Regions from separate parts of the Homo sapiens genome. Here region 1 is linked to region 2. Evidence: promoter capture Hi-C in 16 types of primary human blood cells and fetal thymus (Javierre and others, 2016). All regions are on one chromosome and are shown on one strand. The core of a region is centred on a gene start or on the middle of the fragment in contact, and the rest is flanking DNA. Distances in the headings are between cores, read along the strand shown. Region 1 overlaps DCAF11 (DDB1 and CUL4 associated factor 11). Region 2 holds the start of CHD8 (chromodomain helicase DNA binding protein 8).

Evidence for each region. The method cuts DNA at HindIII sites, captures the fragments that hold promoters and counts their contacts. A CHiCAGO score of 5 or more calls a contact.
Region 1: a contact is called between a fragment that was not itself captured here and the fragment with the promoter of CHD8 in region 2, in 1 of 17 cell types (total CD4 T cells). The highest score is 5.2, in total CD4 T cells.

Annotation. Positions count from the first base shown.
Region 1 is chr14:24,117,044-24,121,565 of GRCh38, reverse strand. DCAF11 (DDB1 and CUL4 associated factor 11) reads right to left here. Exons shown (of 15, transcript NM_025230.5): 3 at 4,522; 4 at 4,173-4,300; 5 at 3,834-3,898; 6 at 3,411-3,511; 7 at 3,032-3,178; 8 at 2,762-2,816; 9 at 2,353-2,421; 10 at 1,950-2,007; 11 at 1,670-1,855; 12 at 575-728; 13 at 49-201. Among named protein-coding and RNA genes, the nearest start is that of NRL, 4.4 kb to the right of the region's middle. The HindIII fragment of the contact is 3,232 bases long and covers 640-3,871 here.
Region 2 is chr14:21,454,026-21,458,284 of GRCh38, reverse strand. It overlaps CHD8 (chromodomain helicase DNA binding protein 8), which reads left to right and starts at 2,162. Exons shown (of 38, transcript NM_001170629.2): 1 at 2,162-2,253. LOC124903283 (a long non-coding RNA gene) reads right to left here and starts at 1,888. Exons shown (of 2, transcript XR_007064064.1): 1 at 1,808-1,888. RefSeq lists enhancers at 762-1,313, 1,590-1,639, 1,650-1,699, 1,314-1,865, 1,730-2,419. The HindIII fragment of the contact is 18,756 bases long and covers 1,491-4,259 here.

The sequences.
Region 1 (4,522 bases), core at 1,006-3,505, 2.7 Mb before region 2:
AGTCATTCCTGCCCTTCCTGAGGCCCCCTGTTCTGACACAATCCTTACCAACCACTTTGCCAGTGGAGCAGCCACTGTAGATGAACTGCTGGCCAGTGCTATGAATGGGGGAGAACCGGCAGCGGATGAGGGTGTGCAGCACTCCGTGGCCCCGGTAGGTCATCAAGGAGCTGTCCCCTGGGAGCTTCAGCTTCCGCCAGGCTGGGTAGGGATGCAGAGTAAACCCTAGGTTAGGAAATCTGCTTTGGGATTGTTTCGTACCACCAGTCCTGAGCAAGGTTCGATGCCCAGAGACAAATGCCTTTCCAATCTTCAAGTGGTGGCTCTTTCTCCACCTAATAGTCAGTGGACAGTCTCCAATATGGCCCTGCCGGTTAATCATTACACTCACATACTTTTATATTGGTTGATTCTGAGTGACCCCCACCCAGGCCCCAATCCTAGGAACCTCTGGCCATTCCATCCATGATTTAGCAAATAAAGAGTTAATGCCTGGCAAAGAGGGCTGAGGGGGAGGTCCTCCAGGGCTCCCAGGCTACAGACAAATCCACTGTGCCTGTACTTCCAGTCTCACCTTTTTTGGGCACTTGCTGCCACCGATAGTCCCAGTTTTGCTGTGTGGCAGCCTGGCGTGAAGCTTCCATGCCTTCCCGGCTGGAAAAGCGTCGGATATCCCAGAGTTTGATGGTCTGGTCTTTAGAGTTGGAGATCAGATACCGGGCATCACCCTATGAATCCAAAGGTGGATAGTGAAGCATCAGAGCTTGCAAATGTCGGCGCCTGTCAGTCTAGTTCCCGTTCTCTAGTTGAGCAGAAGAACTCTGGCCTCTGGCTTTACTTGCCTCTCTTCATCCAGGTGAACTCATTTCCAGCGTTCTGCCTCAGATCCTACCACCTGGCTAGGTTTTCCTTTCCTTGCCCAGGCTACTGGCCGGCTTTCCTATTCTAGCCTTAATCAGATTGTCTTCCATTTTTCTTTTTTTAATTTTTAATTAACTAATTTTTTTTTGAGATGGAGTCTTGCTCTGTCACCCAGGCTGGAGTGTAGTGGGGTGATCTCGGCTCACTGCAAGCTCCGCCTCCCGGGTTCACGCCATTCTCCTGCCTCAGCCTCTTGAGTAGATGGGACTACAGGCGACTGCCACCACACCCAGCTAATTTTTTTGTATGTTTAGTAGAGACGGGGTTTCACCATGTTAGCCAGGATGGTCTCGATCTCCTGACCTCGTGATCTGCCCGCCTCGGCCTCCCAAAGTGCTGGGATTACAGGCATGAGCCACGGCATCTGGCCTTAGTTTTTTTTTTTTGTTTTTTTTTTTAAATAAATAGAGATGAGGTCTCGCTAGGTTTCACAGGCTGGTCTGGAACGCCTGAGCTCAAGTGATCCTCCCACCTCAGCCTCCCAAAGTGCTAGGATTACAGGTGTGAGCCGCTGTACCTGACCGGTCTTCCATTTTTCTTGTACGGAAAGCCCTGCCCTGCTCCTTGAGGACTGGTGAGTACAGATGGAATTCATGTTCCCTGGCTTGAGCCCCTTCCCTAAACTCCAACTCTTACAAACCTTGGTTAATAAGGAGCTTGTCAAATTCCCACACCAGTCCGCTTTCATGCCCTCCTGGGCAACTAGAACCTTAGCGGCCTGGCTGTACAGTCCTGACTTCTGGCCCACCTTGCTGTCAATGAAGGTGATGCCATCCTGGTGTCCAGCCAGTGCACCCACAGGCTTGGGGTCATCCTCCCGCATGGTGCGTCGATCCCACACTTTGCAGATGGCATCATCTCCCCCAGAGAACAGGATTTGGGAGCTTATATCAGCAAAGGCCACTGCATTCACATCATCCTCATGGGACTCAATCTAGGCGAAAAGGAGGCCAGGATATAAGACCTCTTTCTAGGTCTTATAAAAAGCCAAAAACCAGGAGGCAGAGGCTCTATCTCAGGAGCCATACCTGAAGGGTGCGCCGGTTCTGTTCTCGGTCAAAGACATACAGGCAGCCATCATTGGCCCTGAAAGGGAAGGGATAAAGGAGGGTCCTGGAGCCATGATCGAGAGGACCAACGTGGTATATGCTCTAGAGAGTTCCACTGAGAAATCCTGCTCTGGGTCAAGCCCTTTGCTCTTTTTATACAGGAAGTGGGGGAAGAGTTAGCTGTGTTTCAAGGAGGCTTGACACCTCCAATCTCGTGCTGGGGAAATGGAGAGCAAGGGGTGAAGCAACTTGTAAATCCTGACCTTGGGAGAAGGTCTGGTTGTTCTCTGCAGCTGCCAGTGCCATCTGTGTAACAGCAGAACTCATCTCTGGCAGAACCCCCATCTTGTTATTGAGGGAAACATACCCCACAAGCACTTACCCTCCTAGTACTTCTCGTCCATCTGAGGAGACAGCAATGGAGAAGACAGCAAAGCGACGCTCATCTGGCCTAAAAGCAAGAAGGAGCTGGGTTAAGTGGACTTCCTTCAGCTTTTGTTAATCTACATAAAATCTGACAACGGTTGTAAGGCACATCCCCAGGGGAAAAAAGAAGTCTGGCTAACATGCACCATAATGCAGATGCTCAGTGAGAACCCAGAAATCATCCTGCAACCATCTATTTTACCCAGTCCTCTGGCTGACAAGATGGTGCTTCCCTCCCAGGAATGCACACAGACCCACCAGTATACTTTTTCCCCTAAACAGAACTTCCAACTCAAGAGGTTTGCTCCCAAAGAGCTTCCCTTGAGAAGTTTCTGATGAGTCTGACCAGAAAGGGAAGCCAGTACCTGAGATCCAGGGCAGTGTGTGTATCTCCCTCACCATAGATATTGCAGATATGAACTAAGAGAAGCAAGAAAAACAAGAATCTTTCAGGGATGGGGGAAGAAGAGTGGAAGTGAAGCTAGGGAAGAGATCAAACAGGGGACAAGGGTACTGGAGCACTTTGGGAGTGATTTTCCCAGGACAAAGTGAGGGATCCTGGCTCAGAGGGGACAGGCACATGGAAACCTCAGGTCCCAGGCTGGAGAGTCAGTGGAAGCCTGGTGCATACTCACTGTAATCAGACCAGCTAGAGTAGAGGAAGTGGTTCCCATCAGGGGTGAAGGCCACATCCAAGACGCTCCAGCCTACGTCGCGGGCCTTGATGCTCTTGAATTTACGGAAACGGCCATATCGGCAGTCATAGAGTCGGATTGTCTGGTCTGTGTAAGTAAAGATCAGGCAGAATTATGGGACAGTTTCCTTGTAACTTTTCTAGATTAGACATCTCCCACTCAGTGTACCTGTGGAGTCTTCCCTTTATCATGGGAAACATGGTCTGGCTAAGCATCCTTAAGCCAGGTCTGAGCTCCCCGTCTGTGGCTTTCTAGCCTCAGTCAGGGGGAATGTCCCATGTTCCAGGAAAAGATAGTTTATAGGACCAGGGTCTGGTACCTTGGCAAGCAGACATGAATATTTGACCATCTTTGCTGTAGATGCCACAGAAAGCCTTCTGAGAGTAGCTATCAGTGAAGCCCAGATCATTGGGCAAGAAGCTAGGGAAGGAGAGAGAAAGTGAGGGTGAGGGGTGCTCAGGATAAGGAGTGTCCCAATCAGCAGAATCCTAACAGAGCTGGAATATCAGAACAGTCATTCTTCCCTTTTGGCTGTGAGTGCAATCCCGTCTTTCAACCATTCCACCATCCTCTAAATTTCTACAATTTTCTACACTTTTCTACTTTGTTTACTCTCAAAGTTTCAACCCCATTTAACCTAACCTTTAATATCTCTGAGGCTCCTTTAACACCTACCCCTTCAAAGTTTAGGAGATAAGACCTATCTGGCCCTTAGAGTCTCTTCACCAAGCCCCATACTCACTGAGATATCACTCGAGACTGTTCTCCAAGGGAGAAGCTTCCCCGATGGCAGAGGCCCCGTTCTCTCTAAATGGAAGGGATTGGGGAATATTGCTAGCAGAAATAGAGGGCCACTTCAGCCATATCAAGCCCCCTCCTCCAAAGATATTGCTCTTGTTATAGAAATGGACACACACATCATAGTCTGTCCCACAGAACTCCGATGGAGGCTGGTTAACTCTCCAGCCCCAGCGCTTGAGGCTTCTACTTTGGAAAGTTGACTTCCTTTTTCTCTGGGGCTGGCAGAGCTTCTGGCTGCTTTGGCAGGCCTGCTGCCAGGCTGGGAGGTGGAGAGGCCTACCTGGTGCAACATTCGAGGAAAGCTGTGCTTCTGGGCGGCCCGCCTAAGCCCCAGCTGCCCTGTGGCCAGTTCCACTTGTGTCTTGATCTCATTGAATTCCAGCTCCCGGGTGTCAGGGGTAGCATCCACTGTGAGTACCAAGGAGAAGTTTCATCCTAGGTCTGCCAGCCTCAGAGGACAGTTAGCAGAACTGTACCCAAGCCCACCCCTGTGGCTGAATATACTGGGGCTGTAAGGACTCCTTATTCCTTAAATTATCGTACCTTCTTTCAATGTAACCTATCATTCAAAATATCACTAAAAGGTTTTCTAGTAAAAGTCTTCCAACATTAGGGGCTTTTCCTCTTACC
Region 2 (4,259 bases), core at 913-3,412:
GGCCAAGACCATTGGAAATCATACTAAGATCAGTGTAGGTACCAGAAATTGGTTCAGGCACACCTGTTCCCATTTCCATAATATCTATAGCTCCTTTGATGACAGGTCTATTCTGTACCAGATGGATAATAGGCTCTCATCCTAGAAACTATTAATAATTAAGGTTATATCTGTATATGCATTTACAGACAAACACATTGTTCTGATAAATCTTAATACTAACATCAAATTGATATAATGGCAGCAGTAGCCAGGAGAGAATTTGGTTGACAGATTTTTTTTTTTTTTTTTTTTGAGACAGAGTTTCCCGCTTGTTGCCCAGGCTGGAGTGCAATGGCATGATCTAGGCTCACCACAACCTCCGCCTCCCGAGTTCAAGTGATTTTCCTGCCTCAGCCTCCTGAGTAGCTGGGGTTACAGGCATGCACCACCACACCCAGCTACTTTTGTATTTTTAGTAGAGACGGGGTTTCTCCATGTTGGTCAGGCTGGTCTTGAACTCCGGACCTTAGGTGATCCACCCGCCTCGGCCTCCCAAAGTGCTGGGATTACAGGCGTGAGCTACCGCGCCTGTCTTGGCTGACAGATTTTGATACACAGGGAAATGTATTTGGCCAAGTCTTTTTTTTTTTTTTTTTTTTTTTTTTTTTTTTTTTGAGATGGAATTTCGCTCTTGTTGCCCAGGCTGGAGTGCAGTGGTGAGATCTTGGCTCACCACAACCTCCGCCTCCTGGGTTCAAGCGATTCTCCTGCCTCAGCCTCCCGAGTAGCTGGGATTATGGGTGTCTGCCACCACGCCCGGCTAATTTTTTTTTGTATCTTTACTAGAGACGGGGTTTCACTATGTTGGCCAGGCTGCTCTCGAACTCCTGACCTCAGGCGATCCACCCGCCTCAGCCTCCCAAAGTGCTGGGATTACAGGCGTGAGCCACTGCGCCCAGCTTAAGGCCGAGTCTTATCACTCATATGACTTCTTGATGTCTCTGAGCTCCTATCATGTAAGACCATGCAATTATGTTACTCCTTGAGAAATTCCTTTAATAATCTGGAAGGATTCCCTCACTCACAACTTTAAAAAAGATTTCTTGGCCAGGAATGGTGGCTCATGTCTGTAATCCCAGCACTTTGGGAGGCCGAGGTGGGCGGATCACTTGAGGTCTGGAGTTCGAAACCAGCCTGACCAACATGGCGAAACCCCGTCTCTACTAAAAATACAAAAATTAGCTGGGCGTGGTGGCGGGAGCCTGTAGTCTCAGCTACTCAGGAAGCTGAGACAGGAGAATTGCTTGAACCCGGGAGGCAGAGGTTGCAGTGAGCCGAGATCGCCCCACTGCACTCCAGCCTGGGTGACCGAGCGAGACTCCATCTCAAAAAAAAAAAAAAAAATTAGGCCTTTAAAAAAAAAAAGGAATTCCTCCTTAAGTCCTGTTCTTGATTTCCAACTGATTCACAGTGCCCCTACTGGAAAATTTGCAGTGAATCCTAAAGCTTAGTAGCACCTATAATAGATACATGTCCTGATATTTTGAGTGAGGTGTCCATAAAGGATTACCCTAGGAAAGTGCAACTTTCACTCTCATTAGAAGAATTAATTTTTGCTTATTTGATTTGTTAAAATTGCTTTACTCCTACAGTTAAGTGAGAGGGTGGTGGTGGTTGTTGCCCGTAACCACATACGGCATTACTCCAGGGTTTCACGTCGTGACTGAGGGGCCTCCTAAGTGTATACAGCAGAGTATGTTCGGGCTGGACCTAGATAGTCGGACAGAACACCGACAGGGTCTTCACATTCTTTAAGCACTCTCACCCAGTCCCGGAGTCCGAGCCAAGATGGCTTCCCAGAAGTAGGTAACTAAGTGTTGTTTTAGTTCACAGCGCCCCCAATGGCGGGGGTCAAAAAAAGATGCCGAGGGGCCTGGCCGCCTGTGAACTGAGTCGTCAGAGGCGAGCCGCCGCCAGATTTTATTTTCAATCAGGCATATTTGTGGTCGCCTACGTACCCTTCTCATCCTCCTAGGACCTTCCACCCTCAAGAGACTTCCTGGATGGCGCTCACACTAGCTCGCTGGAAGAGGCCGGGCTTCGGTGCTGCCATTGGCGGATGGGAGCGCAGGGGGGCGGAGCCTAGGGAGAATGGACTACTAGCAAGCTAGATTGAGGCGAGGGCTGGCCATGCTCCGCCGGAAGGCGCCTTGTTCTCGGAGAGGGTGAGTTGAAACGCTGCCTGGAAAGGAAGTACCAGGACTTGCACAGGTAGGCTTCCCGCTCGCACCCGCTCCTCAGTGCTGGGCCAGGAGTCAGCAAAAGCTGAGGCTCTCAGAGATTTGATTTAAGTAACTCCTTCTCCTCTCTCTTCCACCCCCTGCTCGCCCCCCAGTTGTGAGGGATCAGGTGCGGGGTGATGCTCCGGACTGAACCAGTCTCCTTTGTGAGAGGCCGGGGGAGAGGGTGGCTGCCGGGCCGCGGGGTCCGAGCCGGGCCGAGCCGCGAGGGACTGCTTGGGACGCTGTGGAGTTTTCAGGGCTTGTCATTGCATTACTGGGCGTAGTGTAGATTGGAGGCGGCGCCTTGTTCTCCTCTCTTCAGAGAAGGGAAAACTCCTCGGCCCCGTTTGGTTACTCCATACTTTGGATTCAGAAATAGGTGGTTAGGGTTTTCTACTTCTTTTTATTTTTTTTTCTTCTGTATTTTAATAATAAAGGTGGGTAGGAAAGCATGGGGTAAGCGTAAGCAGATTGTTACTCATTCTCAGGTGTAAGTTCTGTGGGTCTCCTGGCAGTGAAGAGCAGGCTGTTGGAGAATGTTTAGAGATGGTGGGAAGAGAGGAGCTCAAGCCTTGCATCCTCCTTGACAGGTCTGCAGAGCTCACTGGTTTTCCGTTGCATTATGTAAACTCGTCACTGATAGAAGACCCTTCCCCCTGCTTTGGAACGAATGCAGTTTATTTACCTGTCTCTAGTGTCGCAGGGAATTTCCCTGCAGCAGCTGTATAAATGCAGCAGCCTCTTGCTTTTTAAGGGACAGTCTTGAAGCGGTTAGGGTCTTCACAGAAAAGGTATATAGTGGACCCATCTCTTTCGTATGGCTAAGCAAAGTGAGCCAGAAGTCAAAGATTTAGAACTCTGTCTTTTTCTATTAAAGAATAAACAGCGGAGCGCCCCAAACACAAGCCAGGGGAGCTGCCTTATCAGTGTCTGCTGCATCCTACCATCACAGCGGCGTCTACAGATCGTTTCATCTCCATGCTTTTCTGAGTTTGTCGACTCAGTCAAGGATTCTCAGCCTAGGTTAGCATATGCTGAAGTCATCTGGTGTGGGGCACATTACATATCGAAAGTGAGTTTGTGATTTGAATCGTGTCCTGTGTTAGTTAATTAGATCGTGTCTTCTGCTTAGGAATTTCTTTTGTATTGGTCATCCAATAGGTTTCAGAACAAATTCTAGTCAACCTCATAGAGCAAGATATGAGAAACTTATTTCAAGTACTTTGGAATTATCCCAACCCTTAAAAAAAGAGTTATGATAAGAAAAACATTTTCCATGTAAGAAGACCTTCTGCTGCAAGAGAGGCGTGTCAGTGGATCTGAAGGCAAGTGAAAGATATTGGCCAAAGAGAGAGTAGGCAAGTTTGAAGAGACAGGCTTAGGAGAAAGTTTAAAACTGAAATAGTGGCTCACGCTTGTAATCTCAGCACTTTGGGAGGTGGAGGCGGACGGATCACTTGAAGTCAGGAGTTCGAGACCAGCCTGACCAACATGGTGAAACCCCGTCTCTAAAAGTACAAAAAATACAAAAAAAAATTAGCCGGGCATGGTGACGCGTGCCTGTAGTCCCAGCTACATGGGAGGCCAAGGCATGAAAATCGCTTGAACCCTGGAGGTGGAGATTGCAGTGAGCCAAGATCGTGCCCCTGCATTCCGGCCTGGGCGACACAGCCAGAGGATAGCAAAGGAGTAATGGATTGGGATAAGGGATATAATGGAACAGTGTATGAGTACTTGAACAGTTTTTGTATTCTCCATGTTTGATCTGTCCTGTGCATCTGCTCTTTTGGTTTTGTCAGTTTTCTTTTCTTTTCTTTTCTTTTCTTTTCTTTTCTTTTCTTTTCTTTTCTTTTCTTTTTTTTTGAGACGGAGTCTTGCTCTGTCACCCAGGCTGGAGTGCAGTGGCAGGATCTCGGCTCACTGCAACCTCCGCCTCCCAGGTTCAAGTAATTCTCCTGCCTGAGCCTTCCGAGTAGCTGGGATTACAGGCGCCCG